Linked DNA regions of Homo sapiens: regions 1, 3 and 4 are each linked to region 2. The links are contacts of gene promoters, found by promoter capture Hi-C in human tissues and cell types (Jung and others, 2019). All regions are on one chromosome and are shown on one strand. Each heading gives the region's core, a stretch centred on a gene start or on the middle of the fragment in contact. The rest is flanking DNA. Distances are from core to core; before and after follow the strand shown.

Region 1 (3,588 bases), core at 501-3,000, 420 kb after region 2:
GGAATACCACTCAGCAATAAAAAGGAGAGAACTATTTATACATATTAAGAACATGGATGAATCTCAAGTTAATTGTGCTGAAAGAATTCAGACAAAAAAAGAGCACACACTGGATTCGTCTATTTATATTAAATTCTAGAAAATACAAACTAATTTATAGAAAGCAGATGAGTAGTTACCTGGATAATAGAGGAGTAGGAAGAGAATTACAGAGGAGCCTTAGAAATCTTTTGGGGGTGTATTAGCCATTTTCAACTGCTATCAAGAACTGCCTGAGAGTTCTCACAAGATCTGATGGTTTTATAAGGGGCTCTTCCACCTTTCCTCCCCAGCCATGGTGAACTGTGAGTCAATTAAATCTCTTTCCTTTATAAATTATCCAGTTTACTGAGAGTTGGATACAAATGTACAGTTTACTGGGTAATTTATAAAGGAAAGAGGTTTGACTCACAGTTCACCATGGCTGGGGAGGCCTCAGGTAACTTACAATCACGGCAGAAGGCAAAGGGGAAGCAAGGCACCTTCTTCACAAGGCGGCAGGAAGGAGTAGTGCCAAATGAAGGGGCAAGAGCTCCTTATGAAACCATCAGATGTCGTGAGAAGTCACTCACTATCGCAGGAACAGCATGGGGGAAACTGTCCCTATGATTCAATTACCTCCACCTGGTGTCTCCCTTGACACGTGGGGATTATGGGAATTATGGGGATTACAACTCAAGATGAGGTTTGGGTGGGGACACAAAGACTAACCATATCAGGGAGTAATGGGTATGTTATTATCTTGATTATGGTAATGGTTTCATGAGTGTACATGTATGCCATAGCTTCTCATACTGTACACTGTAAATATATGCCATTTATTATATATCAATTAACCCTCAATACAGCTGTAAGAAAAACATTAAATCAAACTCTTTTAAATGATAATCAGCCATAAATCAATTACAAAAAGAAACGCATGTGCTAAATATATTTAACGTTTTTAAAGCAAAATTGAGCTGTACTTTTCTACTTTCTGGGAATCTTTTCAATTAATCTTAATCAGCAGTAGAGCTTGTTTTACTTTTCTGTGTTACTGTCTGATGCTCAGTGGGTAGAGCACTGCAGTTTTGGTTATTAACATGCTTTCTGTGTCTTTTGTATTAATTAAACCTATCGTTCATGTTGCAACCGATATTTGTCTACTTAAATTTTTTATTGAAATAGGGCTTGGTATAGAATTCAATACCTATGGTTGTAAGAAAAGAGATACATACCCTCACTTAACTATGGCATTTTGTTTGCCAAAAGAGCTAGTTGCATGCATGCAGCACTCACTTGTATATCTATTTATCAAATGAGATAAATCTAAGAAAGCACTTTGTAAATTGTAAAATACTAGAGAGGTAGAAATTGTTACTGCTACTGCTCCACTGCTATTAATTAGTTAGGATGGGGAATGGTGAATATTAATTCATTTGCTCAATACAACCAGGTAATTTAGAAGGCTCTAACTCCAAAGTCAACCAATGTATTAATAACAAAATTAGCATAAAGCTGATATATGAGCAGATGAGGTACTGTTGTCATAGAAACACATCCAAGATGGGTGCAACCTGCACTACTTTTTTCTTCTATAACAGAATTGTAATAATACATAATTATAATACAATTACATAATTGTAATATAATATATATTGTATTACAATTTTGTTAGAGAAGGAAATGGTAGTGCTGGTTGCACCCATTTTGGATGTGTTCCTACAAAGAACACACACACACATATATATATACACACACACACACACAAATAGGTATATGTGCACACACGTTTGGCAGCCTCAGGATTATTGAGATTATAAAGAAATAATAAAATTTTAGGTGCAAACTAGGGATTTTGCATGTCAAATAAAACTCTGGTCAATGAGTGTCATCAACACTTAACATGAAGTCAAGTAACCCTCACAAATAATAAACCCTCTCCCAATTTCCCACACATTAGAGAGTACTATCTTGAAACAAAGATATCCCACAATCTCCTGTTCTGTAGAATCCTCTGTAGCTTCCTTTTTACCACCTATATTTTACCTTCTTTTCTGTTTTGTTCCCTAACCTCCTTTATTTAATTCTCTTTAGTCTGCTGTGCTCTTGAACTATAAATCAAAAGTTCAATTTTTTCTTCCTCATTCTCTTCCCAGGCTTTTTCTTTCCTGTGAGAATCGATGTCAATCAAATGCTTATAAAACTCCTTTCACGTAATTTTTTTCAGAGCAATGCCACAGTTAAAAGCTTGCTAGGATTCGCAGTGCAGTTTTTCTTGCTCATCCCGAGCACATCACAGACAAAGGATCACTGAGGGTTTGAGTATTCTACCTTATACATTCTAAAGGATTTAAAATGAAAAAATATTTTCATGTCTCTCAGCTGAGGCCTTAAAAGCCTATCTTTTATTTCTGAGGCTGAAGAAGGTCTGGGATTCTCTCTCTTGGGCCTGGATTTCCATTCTCAATGTATCATATCATGGATTTTTTAAAAAGATGATCATTAGATTACCAATTTAACTAGTAGAAGACTAGATGCCAAAATTTATGAACTGTATGTATTGGTCAGGGTTCTCCAGAGAAATTGAACCAATGGGAGATAATGCATATATATATATATATGATGGAATTTATTAAGTTGTTGCTCAGGCATTATGGAGTCTGAGAAGGTTCACAATCTGCAATCTACAAGCTAGAGGCCCAGGAAAGCTGGTGATGTAGTTCCAAGGTCTGAGAGCCTGAGAGCCAATAGTATAGATTCCAGTCTGGGTCTAAAGACTTGAGAGCCAGGAGCACCAACAGAGGAAGACTGATGTCCCAGATCAAGCAGTCCGTCAGAGTTAATTAAACCTTCCTTGGCCTTTTTGTTCTATTCAGGCCCTCAATGGACTGGATGATACCCACTCATGCTGGGGAGGGTCATGTGCTTTACTCAGTCTGCCCATTCAAATGGGAATTTTTTCCAGAAACATCCTCAGAGGCACATGAGGATGAGAAATAATGGTTAGCCAGCAGCCCATGACACTCAAGACCCAATCAAGTTGGCCTATAGAATTAATCATCACAATGTAATATGATGATGTAAGTGTTGGTTTGGATTTTGAATAACATGGATATTGAGATGAGGCAAAGAGTAGAATAACTGAGTCATCTGGTAGCAACTGGTAAGAACCACAATACTCCTGTTAGCCTCACAAAAAAAGGACACCCTCTCCCATTATGGGTTTGGGATAGCAGTATTCTCTTTGGCCAGCTGTGGACACTTATATGTCTGCTGAGACAGTTACTAAAGAGGCCACAGCCTCTGACTGAAAGAAGTATAACCCAGGATCCTGGCACCCTTCAGGCTGCTTAGACTGTAGCATGGACCAAATACCACCCAGCTAGAGACACTGCAGGATGCACCTCTTCCTGAGGAACACTCCCACTCCCAGGGCCATAGGAGGAAATAACAAGACATGCTTTTAATGTGAATATATGTAAGTATGACTGCTCTCTGTTACAAGGCAGAGCCTAATAGGAAAACATCCAAAGTCACAGCCCCTGGCCACCATCAATACAATCCACA
Region 2 (3,800 bases), core at 1,215-3,714:
AATCTTTTATTTAGAATGTTTATTCTAGTCTATTATTCTCTGCAATTACCAAGTGTTATTTCCTGACACACACTTTCATGTAAACAATGCACAGAAAAAAACACTGTTTTTGCTGATCATGATACTATGCATCAGTTGGCAAAAATCTGAAATAGATTAATTTTGAAAGCAAGGTCATTGGTTTTTAAAATAAAATGGTATGTACTTTTTATAAGAACCAAATTAAGCAAATTATATCAGTTTTCCTAATACACTGATCAATATAGTACATGTAATATTCCAACAGTTTGTAAATCTTCAGAACCCTTCAAACCCAAGGATTAGAGCATATAGTTTTGTTGTATTTGCTTTGTTCTTTTACTCTTAACCTGAAAATCAAATTTTCTGGGTTTGGTGATGTAGGGGATAAAAAAAAAAGAAATTAGTTAAGACCAACTAAGCCTATGATCTAAACAATTTGAAGCAATAACTTTACATTTGAGAACTTGTAGATGATATGAAACTTTTGTCAGCTATTAAACATATTTTTTAAAGCCCTGCTGATGAAAGATGTAGCTTCCAATGTTTTCTCCAGTAGAGTTAATGAGCTAGATAGAAAATATCTCATTAATTTCTTGAGTCCCCTTGTGAGGCAAGAAAATGACATTCTTATCCAACAGCTGGAAAAGCTGAAGAATTAGTGGATGTAACTGTGCTCAACTGCAAAGGAAAAAAATAGCTTTACTATACCCTGAGATGTGGATATGAAAGAATATTGCATACACATATACCCTCTCCCTTATTTTTAAGGAATCAATATCTGCTTAAAGAATAAGACTAGTTAAAACCCTTGGATCTTGGCCCTATAACTTTTGGCAGAGTATATTACTGCTTCATGGCCTGGCAGTGCAGTGACTCTTTTAATTTACTTTAAAATAGCTTTTCCCTAATCTGTACAACCTAACATCTGACCAATCATGAATCTTCAGCAAACTTAAGCCTCTTATTCCATACATTTTTTAAAACTGTAAAAATTCAGGAAATAACTCTTTGCAAAGTACATTGAAGCATTTATTGGGAAGCAAAAAAGCACAAGTTGAAGTGATTTGTAGTTTCATAAAAACGAATTTGACATTTTACTTAGAAGTTGCAAACCACCACATGGTTTTGAGTTTTGAATTCATTTGCTTTGCAAAAAGTGGAATGTTTTATTTGAATGGAAATGCCCTCAAGTTACTTCCAGCATGGCTGTAGGATTGATTTTTCTAGGTTAAGGGAATGCCAAAGTTTAGTGCCTTGTGTATATTCTTTTCGAAAAAAACAAACTATTATCCATGTATTTAAATGGACGTAGGAAATTCAAGAACAAATCAGGGAAATTTAACATCATTTCAGTATTACCAACATAGGGCTTTGTGTAACGACTGTGACATCAAGATAAGGCTTTACCTCGGCTCATCCAATAGAAATACAGTATGTAAATTAACCCATATTATCTGTATGCTGATTGGCCTGAGTTCCCCTGAATGTCACAATCTCACCACCCAGCAATGAGGTATTTTACTGCTGTCTCAAGATCAGATTATTACTGTAGAGAAGATTTTTATTTTTTGTTTCATTAACAGATTATTATAAAGCAAAAAGCATGCAGAAAAAGAAGCAGACGTTTTACATTGGGAATTAATGAAAGCGTGTCTGCTAGTTTTGGGTAGGAGAACTGGGAAGTTGTTGCTTAAAATTTTATATCACCTCCACAAACAAAACTCTTCGGAAATGGTAAAATAAGAAAATGCATGATTCTAGAGGCATTCCTAAGCACCCACGTGTCAGGCTTTGTGGTGTCTGTGGTATCATCCGACCGTTTGGACTGGTGTAAGTTTTACGTATTTGTTATATTTCTAGTATTTTTCATCTGTAATAACAAAGGGGAAAAAAGGAAACTCGTACACATAACTGCTTTGACATCACCCATCATTGGTCAGCGGAACTTGTAAGAAGGGAAAAGGAATACTGTTGCTTGGTGGGGTGGAATGCCAGGAATAGCCATTTAAACATTTTATAAGCCTGATTCTTTAGTGACATCCTTTAAGGTAGACTGAATGTAAATCATATTGTAGTTGTCCTCTGAACTTAGCTTTCTCCCTACTTTTACGCATATTTGCGTGCATTGGAGAATAGAAGATGACTAACAAAGAGAGAGCTGCCCTAACGTGCCTTCCCTTCTTCCCCATTGAAAAGATTTTTAACTGTGGGAAAAAGATAAATAAATAAATAAATAACTTTTTTTCTTTTTTCCCATTCTTTTCTTGTCTTTTTCCAGCTAACCTGCAAATTTAAAGGTTAGCTGGAGACATCACTTAAAAATAAATATATAAAAGAAGCCTCCGGTGGTTTGGACCACCCTAAAAGAAAAGGGAAGAAAGTGTCTGGGGAAGGTTAGGGTTCCGGGAAGCTGAGGGAGGGGGCGGGCGTCACGGGCACTGTGACTTCCTCGTGCGCTGCCTTTGGGAAGAGGATGGGCCTGAGGTCCTGAAAGGGCCTTTCCAGCCCCCCACTACAAATGCGGGGAGGGAAAAGTTCAGAAGCAGCCACGAAGGGACAAAAGCTTAATGCTGCCAGTTGGATTGGACAGGGCAGTCAATAAACCCAGCCAGCTCTGGAGTCAGGTAGGGGTTCCTGCTGGTTCCACAGAGGCTGAAGCAGCCCCGCCGCCGCCCTCGCCACCGCAGCCGCCGCCGCCGCGGCCCCTGCGTTACTGGGGGAGACGGTGCCGCTGCGACAGGGGAGGACGCGGCTGGAGCTCAAGGAGGCTCCAGCGCGCAGGCGCCGCCGAGCCCTGCCTGGATGCTCAGTCAAGGCACTAAGGCAAAAAAAAAAAAAAAAAAAACAAAAAACAAAAAAAAAAAAAAAAAAAAGAAAAAGAAAAAAAGAAAAAAATCAGCAATTTATAGAAAGAAGCTATAGTCTGTCGGGATATCCAACACCAACAGGTAGGAGGATATACTCTTGGTTAAGTTTGGGGGATGTGGGGGAATGCACAGTGTTGATGAAACTGCAGGTTCACCGAGAAAGAGCCCTCCCTCAGGTTGTGTGTGTGTGTGTGTGTGTGTGTGTCTCTGTGTGTGTGTGTGTGTGTGTGTGTGTATGTGTTTTGTGACAATAAACTGCATAATGGAAGTACATTCAGACAATGCATCTTCAGTAGGGCTTACTGAGAGCTCCATTTCTGGAAAGCCTTACAAGACTGAGGAATATCAGACTGCGAATCACCGGGAACGGTTCCTTTGCAGCACAGAAGCAATCTCTCTCCCCATCTTCGCGTATGTAATGCATGTCTCTCTCCCTCTCCCCCTCCTCCACCCTCCCCCCATTATAAATCCAGGGGTGGCGGATTTCAGGTTTCGTAATGTTGCATGATGCGATCGGTATTTACCCGAGGATGTACCGGTGGGGAAATTAAAATCATCGAACGCAGTTTTGCCTGGGCTTCCACCAGCATATTCCGGGCCAGTGAGAAGTGGCAAAAGAAACACGCTTGGTGGGAATAACAGAGGAAGCCGATTTCCCTGGTGTGGTCCAGGCACCTGCGAGACAATGTGCATTTTGTTTTAAAAAGCAGCCACTTGTGATTTGCAACAAAGGTTATCAGTGTAAATGGGAAAGGCTTAATTGCCCAAGAAATACAGGTTCATGTTATATTCATTTGAATCCAGGCAGCCAAGGTTTACAAATGGAAGTGCATTATTCCTCTGGGTGTGTTTCCCTGTCCAATATTTACATTAACCATTTTAATAATCATGTGGGCTTAAAAGATTTGCCAG
Region 3 (3,891 bases), core at 281-2,780, 310 kb after region 2:
TAAACAAACAATTATGATTACAGTGTGATAAATACTATAATCTGTGTACATCAGACTGGGATGTGGGGCATAAAGGAAAGTCAGCTCTGCTTGGTGCAGCTCTCTGTAAGAGTTTGTTGCTGCTGACTGATTTCTAGAGGAAAGTCAGCTCTGCTTGGTGCAGCTCTCTGCTTTGTAACAGTTTGTTGCTGCTGAGTGATTTCTAGAAGTGTGTTTTGAAGAGGGAGATGTGAAGACTTGCCTGGACATGGTGCTAGATTTCTAGTCAGCTGGGCTAGGGCAGGGATCCTGTGTGGGAGTCAGCCAAATGAGGAAAACATCTTGGGTGTGGCCTGAGGATATTGTCCTTACTTTGCTCTACTTGCTGGTGTTAGGTACTGTCAGAATTATGTTGTTGATGTCAAAAACTCAAGCATGAGTTTTCCTCCCTCTTCCTTGCCCCTCCTCCTGCTAGCTCCTTTCCCAGCCCTAAATACTTTTTCTTTTCCAAGTCAGCCTCATTCATGCTGGATGCCATTCCAGGCTTTCAAATTCTGTTAACCAAATATGAATATTTTCTTGGTCTCCAAACTTTTTCTTACCTAGTGGTCTTCAGATATGGTGTGTACCACTGGAGGTACACAAAAACTTTCCAAGGAGTCTGTCAGCAGAGATAATTTTAAGAGAATCAGTTTCCTGATTCTCACCTTCCATTCTACTCTTTCCTAAAGTTGATCTACTTGAGAATCCCTTTAGCTGTAGGTGATAGCATTGTGGTTTTAATTTATGTCTCTAATGACTAATGATGTTGAGCATCTTTTTATGTGTGTATTAGCCATTTACTTTGTTGTTTAAATATTCACATCTTTTGCTCATTTTAAAGCTGAGGTTATTTGTCTTTTAAGAGTTCCTTATATATTCTGGATACGAGCCCTTTGTCAGATAAATGATTTGGAAATGTTTACTCCCAGTCTGTGGCTTCTGTTTTTATTTTCTGAATGATACAAATTTTTGAAGAGTTTTCAAGAGTAAAGGTTTTTAATTTTACAGAGTCCAGTTTATCCACTTTTTCTTTTATGGGCTCTGCTTTTAGTATCTTATCTAAGAATTCTTTGCTCAACACTAGGTCACAGTTCTTTCAAAAGCATTATTGTTTTAACTGTTACATTTAGGTGTATGATCCATTTTGAGTATAGTATGAGATAAGGATCTAAGTTTGTTTTTTTTTTTTTAATATATAGATCTCATTGTTCCCAGCACCATTTGTTGAAAAGATTAACATTTCGCCTATTGAATTGCCTTGGCGTCTTTGTTTAAAATCAGTTAAACATAAACGTAAGGTTGTATTTTTGAGTTTTTTTGTTATATTGACCTATATGTCTACCATTGTGCTAGCACTATGCCATCTGGTGAGATGTTTTCTAATTTCCTTTGAAATTTCCTCTTTGACTCATGGGTTATTTATAAGTTTGTTGTGTGATATCCTAATATTTGGAAGTTTCTCACATTTCTTTCCATTGATTTCTAATTCCATGTAGTTGGAGAACACTGTGTGATTTTAGTCTTTTAGGCCACTTGTTTTGTGGCATGGCATGTTTTATTCCATGTTCACTTGAAAATAATGAGTCCTCTGTTGTTGGGTACAGTGTACTATAAATATCAGCTAGATTAAGTTGGTTGGTGGTGGTGTTCATGTATCTATAGCCTTGTTAATTTTCTGTCTAATTCTGTAATACTGAGAGAGATGAAAATCTCTATTATAGTTCCTGAATTGTCTACTTGCTTTTTCAATTCTGTCTTTTTTTTTTTTTGCTTCTTTATTTTGAAGCACTGTTCCTAGAGGTAAATGCATGTTTGTTATATCTTCTTACCATATTAACTCTTGTAATTATGGTAAACAGCATAGTTGAGTAGTTAAAACAGAGATTGTATGGCCTGCAAAACAAAATATTAACTATCTGTGCCCCCGTTTTTTTTTTTTTTTTTTTTTTGATACGGATCATGTATTTGTGTGACCACCACTACCACAGTCAATTTGTAGAGCAGTTAAATCACTGCCAAAATTCCCTCTTGCTTCCTTGTAGTCAGTCCTTCTCCCAACCCCAGGTACTTGGCAACCTGTTTTCCGTTCCTAGACATTTTCCTTTTCCAGAATGTCATATTCGTAAAATCATTTAACATTGTAGTCTTTTGAGCCTGACTTTTGTTTTTGAGACAGGGTCTTGCTCTGCAGTGTGGGCTAGAGTACAATGGTACAATCATGGCTCACTGCAGCCTCGACCTCCTGCGCTCAAGCAGTCCTCCCTGCCTTGGCCTTCCAAAGTGCTGGGATTATAGGTGTGAGCCACTGCACCTGGCCCTGAGTCTGACTTCTTATTTAAATCATTTGAGATTCATCTGTGTTGCTGTGTGCCATCAGTAAGTTAGTTACTTTTATTGTGAGCAATATCCCATTGTATGGATGTTCCAGTTTATCCCTTACTCAGTTGAGAGACACTGAAATTATTTGCAGTTTTTTGGTAATTATGAATAAAGCTGCTATAAACCTTTGTAGACAAGGGTTTGTGTTAACATAAGCTTTTATTTTAGTGTGATGTGGGATTGCTGGGTCATGTGGAAAGCATTTCTTTTAACTTTATACTGCCATACATATGTATTTCTAATCTACAGAATAAGCTCATGACATAAATTATCTCTGTATATATTCCAGAAATCAAGACTCAAAAGGTTAATTAACTTATTCGTGTACACATAGCAAGTGGCTGAGCTGGGATTGAACAAAAGTCTAACTCCGAAGCTTGGGTCCTTTCCACTATGCCCTACTTCTTCCACGTAAAGAAGTCATTTGACTTTAAAATTATACAGTAGCCTTCATAATGTTCTTAAATTTCCTGAAACAAGCAAAGTTTTGAAAGTCGCCTGTGGTTTCTTAAAGCTGGATTTCTCACAGTCTCTCCATTTATATATTGCCGCATTTACGTATACTGTTTCTTAGTTGGGCTTTACTTTCTTTAGACTTCTATGTATGTTTTCCAAATCTGGTTTGCATAAGGTGACTCATACAAGAATGCTTCTAAACAAACAAGCCGTATATGTTTATGTAAATGTTACATTTTAAAAATGACATTGCATAAAGAAATTTTGTTCCTGTTATCTGAAAAATTTTAGGATATGAAACATTGAATACTTTGACCATGACTTGAAAGCCCAGCTGAATAGAGATCTAATAACTAGTAACAACTTTTATTCAAAGGGCATTACTTACAGGTTGTTTATTGGTCTTCTTTTGTGCTCAGTTTATATCTGCTCTGAAATATGAGCCATGTCTTAAAATTTGATAATGAGCTGAGGATAATTTGGAGAAGCAAAGGAGAATAAGTACTTGTAGGCTTGAATCAATTGATCTTATTTGTTACTTGGAATTAAGGTGTAAGGAGTACTCCAAAGTCACAAATGACTTCTAGATTGAAGCTATAGAATAAAGGTTTGCAGGCCAATAAAATTGAAGCTCTCTGAAAGTGGCAAGCAGACAAAACATCCTAAATTTATTTTGGCTTCCCCTGGACATACTTGCCATCTGTTCAGTTAAGATTACGAATTTTTGTATTGCCAAAATACTAACTTGTGTGTGATCATAATAGAATATTTAATACTGTTTTTCTAAGCTTGCTTTTTCAAAATAACCTAATAGAAGTACTTAATGATTTTTTCCTGATAAATTTGCTTTCTAAAAATGTATGACAGGGCCAGGCATGATGACTCACATTTGTAATTCCAGCAGTTTGGGAGGCCAAGGCAGGAGGATTGCTTGAACCCAGGAGTTTGAGACCAGCCTGGGCAACATAGGGAGACCTTGTCTCTACAAAAATAAAAAAATTAGCCAGGCATGGTGGTGCATGTGCCTGTGGTCCC
Region 4 (3,798 bases), core at 1,252-3,751, 440 kb after region 2:
GGTTAAATTTATTCATAAGGATTTTGTTGTTTTTGATTTTGATGTTATTGTAAATGATATAGTTTTTCTTTTTCAGATAGTGTGTAGACATGCAACTGATTTTTATTGATTTTGTACCCTGTAGCTTTACTAAATTTCTTATTTCTATAGTTTTCTTTGGTGGAGCCATTAGGGTTTTATATAGATAAGATCATGTCATCTGCAATCAGAGGCAATTTAACTTTTCCCTATTTGATGTGGTTGCCTTTTATTTCTTTTTCTTGCCTCTTGCAATGGCTAGGACTTTCAGTACTATGTTGAATAGAAGGAGCAAGAGTGGGCATCCTGACTTGCCCCTAGTCTTAGAGAAAAATTTTCAGCTTTTCAACATTGAGTATGATGTTAGCTGTGTGCCTGTTATATATGGTCTTTATCATGTTTAGGTATATTGCTTCTATACCCAATTTTTAAAATTTTTACAATGAAAGAACGTTGAATTTTGTCAAATGCTTTTTTTGCACCTACTGAAATGATCACATGATTTTTATCCTCCATTTTGTTAAAGTGTTGTATCATACTTATTGATTTGGTATATCATGCCACCCTTACATGCCTGGAATAAATTCCACTTGATCATGGTGTATGCTCCTTTTAATGTATTGTTGAATTTTGCTAGTATTTTGTTTGCTAGTATTTGGTTGAGAATTTTTATATCTATTTTCATCAGGGATATTGGCCTGTAATTTCCTTTCCTTGTAGTATCCATATCTGGCTTTGGTGTTGGGGTAATGCCGGCCTCATTGAACAGGTTTGGAAGTGTTTCCTCCTCTTTAATTTTTTGGAAGTTTGAAAAGAATTGGCATTAACTGCTCATTAAATATTTGGTGGAATCCATCAGTGATACCATCGGTCCTGTTCTCTTCTTTGTTGGGTAGTTTTTAATTAACAATTCAATCTCCTTACTCTTTACTGGTGTGTTTAGATTTTCTATTTCTTTATGAGTCAGTCTTGGTAGGTCGTATATTTCTAGAAAAGGTTACCCAATTTGTTGGTATATAATTGTTCATAGTAATCTCTTATGACCCTTTGTGGTTGGATGGTATCAGTTGTAATGCCTTCTCTTTCATTCATAATTTGATTTCAATCCTCTCTTTATTTCTTGGTTATCTAGCTAAATTTGCCAATTTTGTTTGTCTTTTCAAAAATCAAAGTCTTCATTTTGTTAATCTTTTATATTGTCTTTCTAATCTGTATTTCATGTGTTTTGTTCTTATCTTTATTACTTTGTTTATTCGGCTAAGTTTGAGATTTCTTCTTCTTCTTCCTTGATGTTTAAAGTTAGGTTATTTGAGATCTTTCATTTTTCTTGACATAGGCATTTATTGCTATATTAAGAACTGGTTTTGCTGCATCCCATAAGTTTTAGTATGTTGTGTTTCCATTTTATTTGTCTCAAGATATTTTTTAAATTTCCTTTTTGGTTTCTTCTTTTTCCCATTGGTTGTTCAGAAATGTGTTGCATAATTTCCACATATTTGTGGTTTTCCATTTTTCTCCTGTCATTGATTTCCAGTTTTATACCATTGTGGTCAGAAAAGATACTTGATATGATTGCAATCTTCTTAAAAAATTTTAAGACTTGTTTTAAGTCCTAACATTTGATCTTTACTTGGATAATATGTAATCTGCTGCTTTTGGATAGAATGTTCTGTATTTGTCTGTTAGAGCCACTTGGTCTACAACATTGTTTAACTCTTCTGTTCCCTTACTGATTTGCTGTCATTGTGGAAGGTGGGTATTGAAGTCCCCTACCACTATTGTATTACTATCTATTTCTCCTCCCTCCAGTTCTGTTAATATTTCCTTTATATATTTAGGTACTCCAGTTTTGGGTACATATATATTTACAATTGTTATATCCTCTTGACGACATGACCCCCTTGTCATTGTATAATGGCCCTCTTTGTCTCTTGTCACAGTTCTTGACTTAAAGTCTATTTTGTCTAAGTAGCCACCCCAACTTTCTTTAGATTACCATATGCATGGGATATTATTTTCCATTCCTTCACTTCCAGCTTATGTGTGTCTTTTTTTTATTTTTTAATTTTTATTTGCCAAATTATTTCTCACTTGAGACCTATGCATGTCTTTAAACTGAAAGTGAGTCTCCTATATGCAGCATAGTTGGATCTTGGTTTTTAAAATCCATTTGGCCACTCTATGTTTCTTGATTAGATAACTTAATCCACTTATATTTAATTATCAATAGGCAAGGACTTACTACTGCCATTTTGTTGTTTTCTGCTTTGGAGTTCCTCTCTTCCCTTCTTCTTTTGCTGTTTTCCTTTGTGATTTTATGACTTTTTATGGTGGTATGCTTGGATTCCTTTATCTTAATTTTTTCTGTATCAACTACACATATTTCCTTTGTGGCTATCATGAGGCTTATTTAAAAATAGTTTACAGTTATAACATTTTATTTTAAGCTCATAATAGGTTGAATCACATCAAAAAAAACTCTATACTTTTAATTCTCCTCACCAAGTCACATTTAAGGTTATTAATGTTACAATTTACATCTGTTTAATATTGTGTATTCATTAACAAATTATTGCAGTTAAAGTTACTTTTAATATTTGTCTTTAAACTTTTACACTAGAGTTGAAAGTGATTTACATAACACTATTTCAATATTAGAAAATTCAGAATTTAACTATATACACTTGCCCCTCACTGTTTGTGGTGGATTGATTCCAGAACTTTCTGTGGATACCAAAATTTTCAGATGCTCAAATCCCTGATAAAAAGTGGCATAATATTTGCATATAACCTATGCACATTTTCCAACGTTAAATCATCTCTAATTTACCTATAATACCTAATAAAGTGTAAATACTATATAAATAGTTGTTACACTGTATTGTCTAGGGAAGAATGACAAGAAAAATGTCTGCACATCTTCAATACTGATGTGATTTTTTTCTAATATTTTAAATCTGTGGTTGGTTGACTTGACAGATGTGAAACCCAAAGATATAGAGGGCTGACTGTATTTACCTTTCCCAGTGAGTTTTATACATTCATATATTTTTACATTGTTAATTATAATCATTTCATTTCAGATTGAAAAACTCCCTTAACTCCCTTTAGCATTTCTTGTAAGGCAGGTCTAGTAGTAATAAACCCCCACAGCTTTTGTTTGGGAAAGTCTTTATCTTTCCTTCATTTCTCAAGGACAACTTTCCTGGGTATAGTATTCTTGGCAGTTTTACTGCTTTCAATATTTTTAATATATGACCCTACTCTCTCCTGGCCTGCAAGGTTTCTGATGAGTAATCCAGTGACAATCTGATGGAGACTCCCTCATATGTGATGAGTCACTTTTCTCTTGGTACTTTCAAAATTCTCTCTTTGCCTTTGAATTCTGCTAATTTACTTGCTGTATACCTCTTTGAGATCAAACTATTTGAGAACCTTTGGGTCTAATGAATCTCAATGTCCATTTCTCTCCCCAAATTTGGGAAGTTTACAGTCATTATTCTTTAAAATAGACTTTCTTCCCATTCTCTCTCCCATTCTAGGACTCCCATTATATGTATATGTTTTGCTTATACTGTCCTATAAACCCTATAGGGTTTCTTCACTGTTTTTCATTTTTTTGATTTTTTACTCCTCTGGATAATTTCAAAGGATGTCTTCAAGTTCACTGATTCTTTCTTCTGCTTGCCTGAGTCTATCAGCTCTTTATTGAACTTTTTAGTTGAAGAATTCCGTTCTTCAGCTTTCTTTGTTGAACATTTCATTTGTTCATGTATTGTT

What was found. The method cuts DNA at HindIII sites, captures the fragments that hold promoters and counts their contacts. A contact is called where the count stands out against the background at its distance.
Region 1: a contact is called between a fragment that was not itself captured here and the fragment with the promoter of GPR85 in region 2, in 1 of the 25 tissues and cell types used here (mesenchymal stem cells).
Region 3: a fragment that was not itself captured here is called in contact with the fragment with the promoter of GPR85 in region 2 in 3 of the 25 tissues and cell types used here (dorsolateral prefrontal cortex, lymphoblastoid cells and spleen).
Region 4: a fragment that was not itself captured here is called in contact with the fragment with the promoter of GPR85 in region 2 in 2 of the 25 tissues and cell types used here (lymphoblastoid cells and mesenchymal stem cells).

What each region holds. Positions count from the first base shown.
Region 1 is chr7:112,669,066-112,672,653 of GRCh38, reverse strand. The region is part of intron 5 of LOC101928012 (a long non-coding RNA gene); the gene reads right to left. Among named protein-coding and RNA genes, the nearest start is that of LINC03076, 53 kb to the right of the region's middle. The HindIII fragment of the contact is 7,161 bases long and covers 1-3,588 here.
Region 2 is chr7:113,085,491-113,089,290 of GRCh38, reverse strand. It overlaps GPR85 (G protein-coupled receptor 85), which reads left to right and starts at 2,464. Exons shown (of 3, transcript NM_001146267.2): 1 at 2,464-2,969; 2 at 3,182-3,299. RefSeq lists a silencer at 2,719-2,778. The HindIII fragment of the contact is 9,773 bases long and covers 1-3,800 here.
Region 3 is chr7:112,779,023-112,782,913 of GRCh38, reverse strand. The region is part of intron 2 of TMEM168 (transmembrane protein 168); the gene reads left to right. Among named protein-coding and RNA genes, the nearest start is that of TMEM168, 9.4 kb to the left of the region's middle. RefSeq lists an enhancer at 1-383. The HindIII fragment of the contact is 6,688 bases long and covers 1-3,891 here.
Region 4 is chr7:112,649,264-112,653,061 of GRCh38, reverse strand. The region is part of intron 5 of LOC101928012 (a long non-coding RNA gene); the gene reads right to left. Among named protein-coding and RNA genes, the nearest start is that of LINC03076, 33 kb to the right of the region's middle. The HindIII fragment of the contact is 6,629 bases long and covers 1-3,798 here.